Linked DNA regions of Homo sapiens: region 1 is linked to region 2. The links are contacts of gene promoters, found by promoter capture Hi-C in blood cells and fetal thymus (Javierre and others, 2016). All regions are on one chromosome and are shown on one strand. Each heading gives the region's core, a stretch centred on a gene start or on the middle of the fragment in contact. The rest is flanking DNA. Distances are from core to core; before and after follow the strand shown. Region 1 holds the start of ELK1 (ETS transcription factor ELK1). Region 2 holds the start of TFE3 (transcription factor binding to IGHM enhancer 3).

Evidence for each region. The method cuts DNA at HindIII sites, captures the fragments that hold promoters and counts their contacts. A CHiCAGO score of 5 or more calls a contact.
Region 1: a contact is called between the fragment with the promoter of ELK1 here and the fragment with the promoter of TFE3 in region 2, in 1 of 17 cell types (non-activated CD4 T cells). The highest score is 8.1, in non-activated CD4 T cells.

The regions. Positions count from the first base shown.
Region 1 is chrX:47,648,665-47,653,533 of GRCh38, forward strand. ELK1 (ETS transcription factor ELK1) reads right to left here and starts at 1,899. Exons shown (of 7, transcript NM_001114123.3): 1 at 1,759-1,899; 2 at 1,257-1,362. It overlaps UXT (ubiquitously expressed prefoldin like chaperone), which reads right to left. Exons shown (of 7, transcript NM_004182.4): 6 at 3,417-3,480; 7 at 3,132-3,231. The coding sequence ends at 3,178. RefSeq lists a cis regulatory region at 1,362-2,342 and a silencer at 1,674-2,083. The HindIII fragment of the contact is 5,079 bases long and covers 279-4,869 here.
Region 2 is chrX:49,039,761-49,044,732 of GRCh38, forward strand. TFE3 (transcription factor binding to IGHM enhancer 3) reads right to left here and starts at 3,597. Exons shown (of 10, transcript NM_006521.6): 1 at 3,351-3,597; 2 at 695-808. The coding sequence starts at 3,466. RefSeq lists enhancers at 84-378, 2,923-3,786 and a silencer at 3,328-3,567. The HindIII fragment of the contact is 3,845 bases long and covers 262-4,106 here.

The DNA.
Region 1 (4,869 bases), core at 649-3,148, 1.4 Mb before region 2:
CAGTGTGGTTGGAGCACAGTAAGGGGGTGGGAAGGTATAGGCGGTAATGCTAGAAAGGTTACTTGTTTTACCATTAATTCACAGTTAATATTTATTTACACTGGAAGGGATTCTAGTTCTGATCCCCCATTTCACAAATGAAGAAAAAGGCACAGAGAGGAAGTGGTTAAATCACTCATCTAAGGTCACACAGCTGCTGGGATTGGGGGGTGGGTGGGTGCTGAGAGAAGGTGAGGAATGAAGACTGCTCTGCAGGCAGAGGGAACAGCAAGAACAAAAGCTTGGAGGTGAGAACTAATTTGGTTTTTAAGGACTGAGGCCTCACGTGGGGTGGGATGAGATCTAAGAGGGGAGCCTCAAAAATTATCCTGTGTCCTGAGTACTTCCTGGGCCACCTTTGAGTAAGGAATTTAACCTCCCTATGGCCCAATTCCCTCACTACCTATCTCATGGGGTTGTGGTGAGGATTAAAGGAACTCATTCATATGAAACACTCTGCCTGATATACGGCAGGTGCTCAATAAACGCTAGCTCCTATTGGCATTACTATCATCACTGGCGCTAATGTATTCACTTATTGTAGTGAGGCAGAACGTCTTTGTGGTTACGAGTGTGACCAGGCTGACCCACTATTAAGAGGTGGAGGACAGGGAAGGCCGTACAGTGCTCCATCACAAGGAAAAGAGGATCAGCACGTTCTCTTCTGGGAAGGGAAAAAAAAAGAGAAGGAAATTGAAAGTACACGGCCGATCTTCCCCCAATTACAAAGCACTGGACTCACGGGAGGGTATGCGGGGGACTGTGCAAGCATACAGGGGTGTGGGGGAGGAAGGCCAATGAACAGATCCACTGCAAAGGGAGGGGTGATGAGGCTCATCGTCTGAGGGGAAGGGGAGCAGAAAACCTTACAGACTCCTGCACCACAGTGAGAGGAGAGAAAAGCCATCACACAGACTGATTCAAAGCAGAGAGGGAAAAGGCTATGGACTGAGCTACTGAAAATAGGGAGATGTAAAGCACTAAACTAACCCACTATTAAAAAGGAGAGAACCCCAAGCGCTAGAGCGACAGTCTACGAAAAAGAGGAGACAGGGCAATGGACTGATAGCTAAAGGGACGTGAATCCAAACATGAAGACTGATCCACTATAAAATGGTGGTGGTGGTGGTGGGGGGGGGGGGTGGTTTTGAAAAAAGCCATGGACTGATGCATTGGGGGACTGGAGGAGGCAGGAATACAAACTCAGGTAGACTCACTGTTAAAGAGGGATGCGGAGGAGTGCGGCGCCACGGATTGATTCGCTACGATGTACAGGAAGGGTGGAATAAATAAGGCCACGGACGGGTCTCCTGAAAGTTGAGGCTAGGAGAAATCCAAACACTCAGATACACCTACTATTAAGGGGGCTGAACACTGTCACAGGCTAGCTCCCTATAAGTGGGGGTGGGTGGGGGGCGGGTGGGGGTAGGGGTAGGGGGAAAGCCTATGGACGAGTCCACCCTAAGTTGGCGTGGGGAAAAACATAAGCACGCAGACCGATCCATTATACAACGGGAGGGGGAGGTTAGGCCACGGTCAGATCCACTATAAGGGACGAAGGGCTTGAGCAATGCCACACGCAGGTCCACCAGCCGTGGTGGTGGCGGCGGGGAGTCGAACACCAGCAGGCCACCGGCCAAGCCACATCCTCTGCGCGGGGGCGGGAAGGATACGTGGGGTCACGGACTGGGCCCTCCACCCTCCAGGCCCAGAGCTCACCTGTGTGTAGCGTGGCGGTGGCGTTGGCAATGTTGGCAGCTCCGGGGGGCGGGGGCTCCATACGCGGCCCCACCGCCCCCCAGGCCTGGGTTCCGAGGCGGCGGTGGAGGTGGTGGTGGCGGTGGCGGCGGCAGCACCTAGAAGCCGCCCCTGCGTTTCCCTACAGCTCACGTGGGCCCGAGGAGGAGGAGCCCAATGTCCCGCCGCTCGCTGATTGGCCAAAGCGCTATTAATCGGCCGCAAGGCCTCGAGGGGTTGGGGGACGGGCCCTTCCCTACAGAGCTGTGCCGTGATTGGCGTAAGGGGAAATGATGGAACGCTCACGGCCCCTGGAGTCCCGAGGAGGCGCGTTCGGCCTTCACGGTGCTCCACGCCGATTGGCTCAAGGACTGACGGACTGTGAGCAACTGAAAAGGCTCGGGGCCTGTGTCGGGGGGGCGGGGGTCTGCCTCACACTGATTGGCTTACATGGGATTGATGGAAGACAGCCCCCAAGGACGGGGGTGGGTGGCCCTGTTTTTCTCTGATTGGCGGACGAGGGACTTCTAGACCCCTGCCAAAACACCAAGGGGGCGGTGTCGCACGCCATGCTGCTCAGCGGAAGCAGGGCTTGTATAGAAATGGGCGTAGCAGCCGGCGGGAGTGGGTCGGACTGGGCTCCGCGTAGGCGGGCAGGGCAGCTCTACGGTTAGACAAGACCATAGAGCTGGGTAAAGACGAATTTAGAACACAGCGGAGGTAGGAGGGCAGGATGGCTGTCAGGCACACGAAAGAGCATTGAGTGGCAGAAACGAAATGCTTTCAGAGGGCAGGGTTGAACTGCGGCCAGAGTTAAAAAGGGGAGGAACCTGGCTCTGCATTGATTGGCGGTGGCTGGACTCAACCTAGAATAGGGGCCCGACTAGGGAGAGCGGGATCCAGGTCTGTGCCCATTGGAAGCTGGAACACTTACAAGCAGGGGCTAAGACAAGGTAGGGCTGAGTTAGGGTTTGGGTGTAATTTGGGGTACCTGGGGAATGATTGGGTGTGTGAAAGCGTAAACCTTAGGGCCCTTTGATTGTTGTGGGAATGAACAAACCTCCACCATGAATTGGCCCATTCTCTATGGCAATTCAAAGGGTGGCGTCTAGGAAAAGGAATGGAAGAAAGGGTGAGGTGGGGGGCCCAGGTTGCCAAGATGACAGAAGAGAGGGCAGTGCATAAGGTCAACTGGCAAATACTGCCAGGCAACAGGCTGGAGGCAGGACTGCTGGGGCATTTTGGAGGTTCCACAGAGAGACTGGATCTCTGGGTCTCTCAGTAACTTTGTGCCCTAGGAACAGGCCCCCGTGGCAACTAGCAGGGTTTATGGGGAAAAAGAAGGGCCATGTGACTCAAAGGCATTCAGGCTCTTTAATGTCTGAGGATGGGGGGAAGAAGTCAATGGTGAGGCTTCTCTGGGAAATTCTGCAGGCCTTGTAGTTCTCTAAGCCCCTGAAAAAGAGGACAGAAGAGATTGAACAAAGACTGGGTCTGGGTTACGCCCCCAGGCTTGCTCTGACCTCCCTCCCTTGACTCCAGTTTAGAGGGAAAGATGGTCCTTCCCTTCTTTCGCTCTCTTCCTTCTTCAGGTCACCACCCTAAACACAGAGTCTGGTAGTGGGGTGAGCTGCTCTCACCTCTAGCAACATGTGGATATGGGCTTTGATATTCATGGAGTCCTTGGTGAGGCTGTTGCTGAGCCTAGAGAAAAGAAACAAGAAAGGGCAAAATGGGCCCCACATGATTATGATGACCCTTCCTTATCACTTCAAGATCTACTTATATCCTGGATGATTTCCACCTGGCTCATTCCTATGTGGAAATGCCAAGCCACCATCTGGTTTTCACTGATTCAAAGATTATTAAATGCCTACTGTATGCCAGGCAATTTTAGGCACTGGGAGATAGCAGCAAACACAACAAACAAAACTCCCGGCCTGATGGACTTCAAATTCTTGTAAAGAAAGACATAACAAAAAACCAATGGAATAAAAGCTATGTGTCAGATGGTTCTAACTACAATAACAAAAATTAAAAATGAGAGACAATAAGGAGTACAGGAGTGGGGGGCTGCAATTTTAAAGAGGGCTCAGGGATGGCTTCACGGAGAAGCATTTGAGTAAAGACTTAAAGACAGTGAATTTTGAGTAGTGTGGCTATATGGAGGATGTGTTCCACACACAAGGGGCAGCAAACACAAAGGCACTGAGGTGGGAGTGTGCCTGGCATGTTTGAGGTGCAGCAAAGAGGCCACTCTGGCTGGAGAAGAATAAGTGAAGGGGGAATGTAAGAGGTGAGGTCAGAGAGGTAATGAGGGAGACAAACTGTGTGAAGCCTACAAGGCCATGGTAAGGACCCTGGCTTTGACCTTAAGTGAGATGGGAGCCAAGGGAAGGTTGCAGCAGAGGAAGGAGGTTGAATTACATGAACCAGTCAGTTGACTCCTTTTCTCTAAGCCAGTTTGGATCAGATCTCGCCCAAAAGAATCCTAATTGATATAAAGGGTCAAGGAAGGCCTTTCTCAAGAATGAAGAATGAGAAGGAATCGAAGAATGCCTAATGGTTAAGCAGTAGGAAGGCCTTTTCCACAAAAAGGACAAGAGGCAACAAAGAGCTGTTTGAGAAGCAGTGAGGTCAGAGTGTTAGAAATTGAGTGGGGAGGGAAAGTGGCCTAAGACAAGGTCCAAGAGATAGGAAGAGGTTAGATCACACAGGGTCTTAATATAATAAGGAATGTGGATTTTATTGTGCTGTCAATGTAGGAGTCAGTTTGAGGGGTAAATGAAACTAAATACTGTTGGAAAAGCAGAGAGCAATAAGATAGGATGTTAAATTGGAAAAAAAAGTAGTATGAACCCATGTATATACCAATATCTCCCACATTTTTATTTCTAGCCCAGAACTCTCTCCTGAACTTGACTAGTTTTAATGACATCTTCTAAAAATCCACTTCAGTGTTTAATAAGTGCCTCATACTTAACAGGTTCCAGACTAAATTCCTGACCTTCCCCTCCAAATCTACTCCTCCCCTAACTTCTCCATCTCAGATAATGGCAACTCCATCCCTCCAGTTGCTCAGCCAAAAACCTG
Region 2 (4,972 bases), core at 2,347-4,846:
GCTTTGGCAGCAGAATGTGGATACAGAGGGCTCCTAAGCCCAATGTGAGGCTAGAGAAGCTCTCTGAGCTCCTGGGGGTGGGCGTCAGGTGATAGGAGAAGCCCCAGGTTCCTCTTCTTCCCCTGCCTGGGCCTCTGGTCCCAGGAGCTAGTCAGTCTTGAAAACCTCGGAGATTTCACAATACTCTCTTCCTGCCCCTCTTCCCCCTCCCCTCCCCTCTCTCAGAGCCCGGGCCGATGACTCAGCACATTTAGACTTCCAAGCTTGGGGAAAGAAGAGACCAGCAGGGGCTCCTCAAGGGCTGAGGGTGGGTGAGTTGGTAGTGTGGGAAGGGACTGAGTTGGGGCTAGAGGCATGTCCCCGCCCACCCGGGGACATGAGTTTAAGCAGGCCACGCCCTATCTCTGAGCACTCCAGGCCGGCTGGAACACCTGAGGCTGAAACACTTGCATATGAATGGGTGTGCAGGTGGGCTGGGGGCAGGCAGGGGAGGTCTTGACAGAGATACTGGAATCCTAGCTTGGCCACCTACTTTCCTGTGTGACATGCTCTTTCTGGTCCCTAATTTTACCACCTAGAAAACGCAGGCTGGTGAAAGAATGGGTTGGGCTGGTACTGAGGGCCTCTGCCCATCAAGAGGGGAGAGGAGGGCTGAGGAATTGGGAGGGGAATCAGATAGACAAGTCATACATACCTTGAGCGAAGGGGTAAGGGTTGGCTTTTGAGCTCGTAGAAGCTGTCAGGATCAAGGACGTTTTCTAATTCTATGTCAGCAACAATCCCGGATTCCGGAAGCAAAGAGTTCAGGCTGAGGGGGAGGTGGAGTGGTGGTCAGTGATTGAATGAAGGACCTTATTCCCCAGCCCTCCCCTGAGACAGAGAAAGAGAGAGAGAGGGGGGGAGAACGAAGAGGAGGGTACAAGCCCCTCATATTTGGCCACCTTGCTGGGTACCACACCACCATGAATTCCCACCTCCTTCCCCCATCCCCCTTTCCCTTCCCCACTGTGTTACTCATAGTCCCTTAGGAGTCAGAATAATAAGAACGCCTGCATCCCAACCCCCACACTGTAACAACCTGGGTTTGAGGAAAACAGAATTTAGGAATAACAATTCACTTTATAGAAGGATTCCTGACTTCCTATTCAGAGTTCTCCCAGCCCCCATACCCCCTACTTTTTTTTTTTTTTTGAGACAGAGTATCGCTCTGTCACCAGGCTGGAGTACAGTGGTGCGATCTCAGCTCACTGCAAGCTCTGCCTCCTGGGTTCAAGTGATTCTCACGCCTCAGCCTCCCGAGTAGCTGGGATTACAGGCACACGCCACCACGTCCGGCTAATTTTTGTATTTTTAGTAGAGACGGGGTTTCACCGTATTAGCCAGGATGGTCTCGATCTCCTGACCTCAAGATCCGCTTGCCTCGGCCTCCCAAAGTGCTGGGATTACAGGTGTGAGCCACTGCGCCCGGCCAACCCCCTGCTATTTTCTTTACAGCTGAATGTGAGCCCAGGTATATGTGTGTACACACACACACACACAGAGCAAGTAGGGGCATCCCTCAGCATAACAGTCCCTTGTAACACAAACTGAATGCATCACAAAGAGAACTGGAAATAATTCACTTGACGTAAAGATCTACCATTTCACAAATGAGTTTCTCCCAGCCCCAGCCAGAGTTCATGGGATGCCAACACATGCCTAAATATAAAATAGAAATATCAAAGGCTCCCCTCGCTCCAACAGACTGGATTTACAAGAGGGAGAATTTGGGTGGTTGATCCACTTTATACAAGCATTCTTTTCTTACCGGAGGAGCCTGCCCAGCCTTCTCCTGTTTTTTTGGATAGATCAAAACACACACACACCCCCAACACTAACACCCACTGGCGCACAAAATAAGAAGCCATATACACCCATCCCTTTAACTATGTCCACTACTGCGATGATCTAGGTTGTTACAGAGGAATTAGAAGATGGTGAATCGATATACAGAAAGGCTCTGCTCAGCCCCAGAGAGCAAGGGACAGTTAACACACACGTGGATGAATATGCATCCTTCAATTTAGCTAAACATTTAGAATGCTGAGAGATTGCTGGTGACTTCACTTGACAAGAATCCTCTCCCCTCCCCAAGGATCTGTCTTCCTTCCTCTCCTCACCCTCAGATGGAGCCCTAAAACCACCCAGGAAGTTGGGAAGAGGAAGCTCGGGCGAGCCACTGAGCTCAGCACAATCCCAGGCACAAAGGAGGCAAAGACCCCCCCCCACCCAGGGCTCACACACCCATTGCACAGAAGTTGGAAGAGATGGGCACTGGGGTGAGCAGGGAGGGCTGGGGCTCCAAAGCCCATTGATGAAAGTAAGGATGAGAAGAGGCCAGAGGGGATCCACCCAGGCAGGGATGGTGCAATCTGTACTCGTTCCAGCTCTATGGACAGATTCAAGATTACCCCCAGGAGCTCGGAGATCGAAAAGAAGATAAAAAGAAAAGGGGTGTGGGGCTAGGGAGTGGGAAGGGCTGAGAGGCTAGAGCGAGTAGCAGCATGAACAAGAGCCTCCTCTGGGTTCCCAAACAAGGTCTGAGGCCTCTGAGCTAAGAGGTAACATCATCGCCCTCTGCCTGGCTGTCTATCTTCCATTCAGGCCCTTAACAGGTGTGGGAAGAGGGCTTTTCCACTATCCTTGGGATCTGCCCCAGCTGGGTAGGCGGGCAGAGGGGAAAGGATTATTCTGGTCAAGTCTTGCTGAATGTTGCTTCTCTTGTTCATTCACACGCACTCACAAGGCTGGTCCCAGGCAGCATATCTGAGATACCTCCAAATCCCTCCAGATTCATGTTATCCCCAAACACAGCAACCAGTCACTGAGAGGCACCAAGCTCCCAAGACAGCACTTCTGTCCCTCAGGACCCCTTCTCCCACACTGAGGGAAAAAAGATTCTAGGATTCCCTTAAAACCAGTGCCTCACCTGACAGTGTCCCCTCAAATTCATTCCCCTCATGTCCGACTGAAAATCCCCGAATTCAGCCTCTAATCAGAGACCCTGTCTACCAAGTTCAGCTATCTCAGACCAGTTTCTGGATACTCCAGAATAGGCCCCTCTAGACGCAGTCAAGGGCTCCCCAAACCTGACCCAGACCCCGCTTAATGCACTCCCACGACTCCTTTAATAAAGCCACAATCCAAGCAGGCCACTGCCGGATTCCTTAGGTGCCCCCCCAAGACGGGCGCCCCGACGTCCTCCAAGGCTAGGCCGAGGGCCTCCAATCCCAGTCCGGGGCCCCCACTGCCCCCGAGATCAGGCCCCTGGGAGCCCCAGTCGGCACTCCCAGCCCCAGGCGGCCCCGCACCTGAGCAGCTGAGCCGAGTCGGCCGGCCTGCGCTCCTCCAACAGCACGAACACGGCTCGAGGGCCCTCCGCGCTGGCCTCTACGCCATCCCGAGCTGGTTCGGCCGCATGAGACATGACGCCCGGCCCCGGGCGAGCCCTGCCAGGCCGGTCGGGCCTCGGCCCGGTCCCCCTAACAAAATAAGAGTCCCCCCTCCCCCCAGCTCGCCACCGCCGCCTCCTCCGCTAAGCCATGGAGCTAGCACTGCGCGGGCGGGCGGCGTCGGGGAGATGGGATGGGCTGTGAGTCATCCCCCGCCCAGAACGGACCGACGCCCCCCCTCAACCTAACCCCGGACGACCGCCCTCCTCCCCCTCGTCTTCTTCCCCCTCCTCCCTCCTCCCAGGGATGGGGAAACTCCACAGGAAGTGACCGCACTGGGGATGGATGGCCCGTCTGGCCACGACCCATTAGCGAGGCGGCCAATCGCTGAACGGCGATTCGAGGGCCCACCCTAAGCGACGCCTCCGACGCGGAGGAAAAACGCGATTCGGCCCGCCCTCATTCCGAGAAGCAGCACCCAGACCACGCCCTCAGGGGCAGCGACAAATAGGCGAGGGTTGATTTGGTTGAACCACGCCTCTATGTTTGCGTCGCTTTCGGAGCCACGCCCTCTCTTCTCAAATTATCCCTCTGCAAGGTAATATTAAGCCGCTCCTTGGGTCCTCTGCGCCTGCGCATCGATGGCCAGTCGGCGCACGGAGGGTCTCCTGGCCAAGCTTTTAGCTGCGGAACCGCGCCCTCTTTCGGCCAATATTTGTAATATCTGAGCCCTAGACCGCGCTCCAACCTCGATCTGGCTGTGCTCTCTCAGCCAAAGCCATAACTATGAGGCAGAGGCAGCTACATTCCCTGAAGGTGCGGGCCAGAAACCCCCCCCTTTCGCTGTCCGCAGTCCAGCCGCCCAGCTGGTCTTCCGGGAGTATTCCGCCTGTTCCATGCCATCGAGAGCGGTTGTACTATGTTCATTGCGCTGCGCAATATGTGCTTAATAAATTCTTGACGGGTGAATGAATCTGGTCCCTTCGGTGAATGACGACTTCTGGAATCACAAAGATCCAGGTTTGAATAGGGAAGGGGACCTCCCCTCTCCCAGCCTCAGCTTTCCTGGCCTGTTAAATGGGGGTCAAAATACCTGTCTGGCAGGGTTGTTCTGAGGATTAAAGATAATGTATGAAAAGTGCTAGCAGGTTGTTTGGCATACAAGAAGCTTCCCAAAATTAGTTGATTCACTCATTTGTTCACTTATTCAACATTCACTGAGCGCTTCTGTATGCCAGACGCATGCAAGCCGGCTCGCACAAGGCGGAGGGTCTCACTCATATATCCTCAGGTGCAAATAGCTCACAAAACACCCAGACCTACAGCCTTCCCTTCCTCTTTCCTGACATCCCAAGACCCCACCCTGAGTTGCGCCTCCAGGAATTTCACCGGGCTTTCATTTACCTTGGACCTTCCTGTATTGGCATCATTATTTCACAGGTCTGTCAGTTGCTTTCGTAAACTCATCCATACTCACACACAACCATCTCGTACAAGGGGGAAACCTCTACATAATAAAGATGACTTCTGGCCGGGCGCGG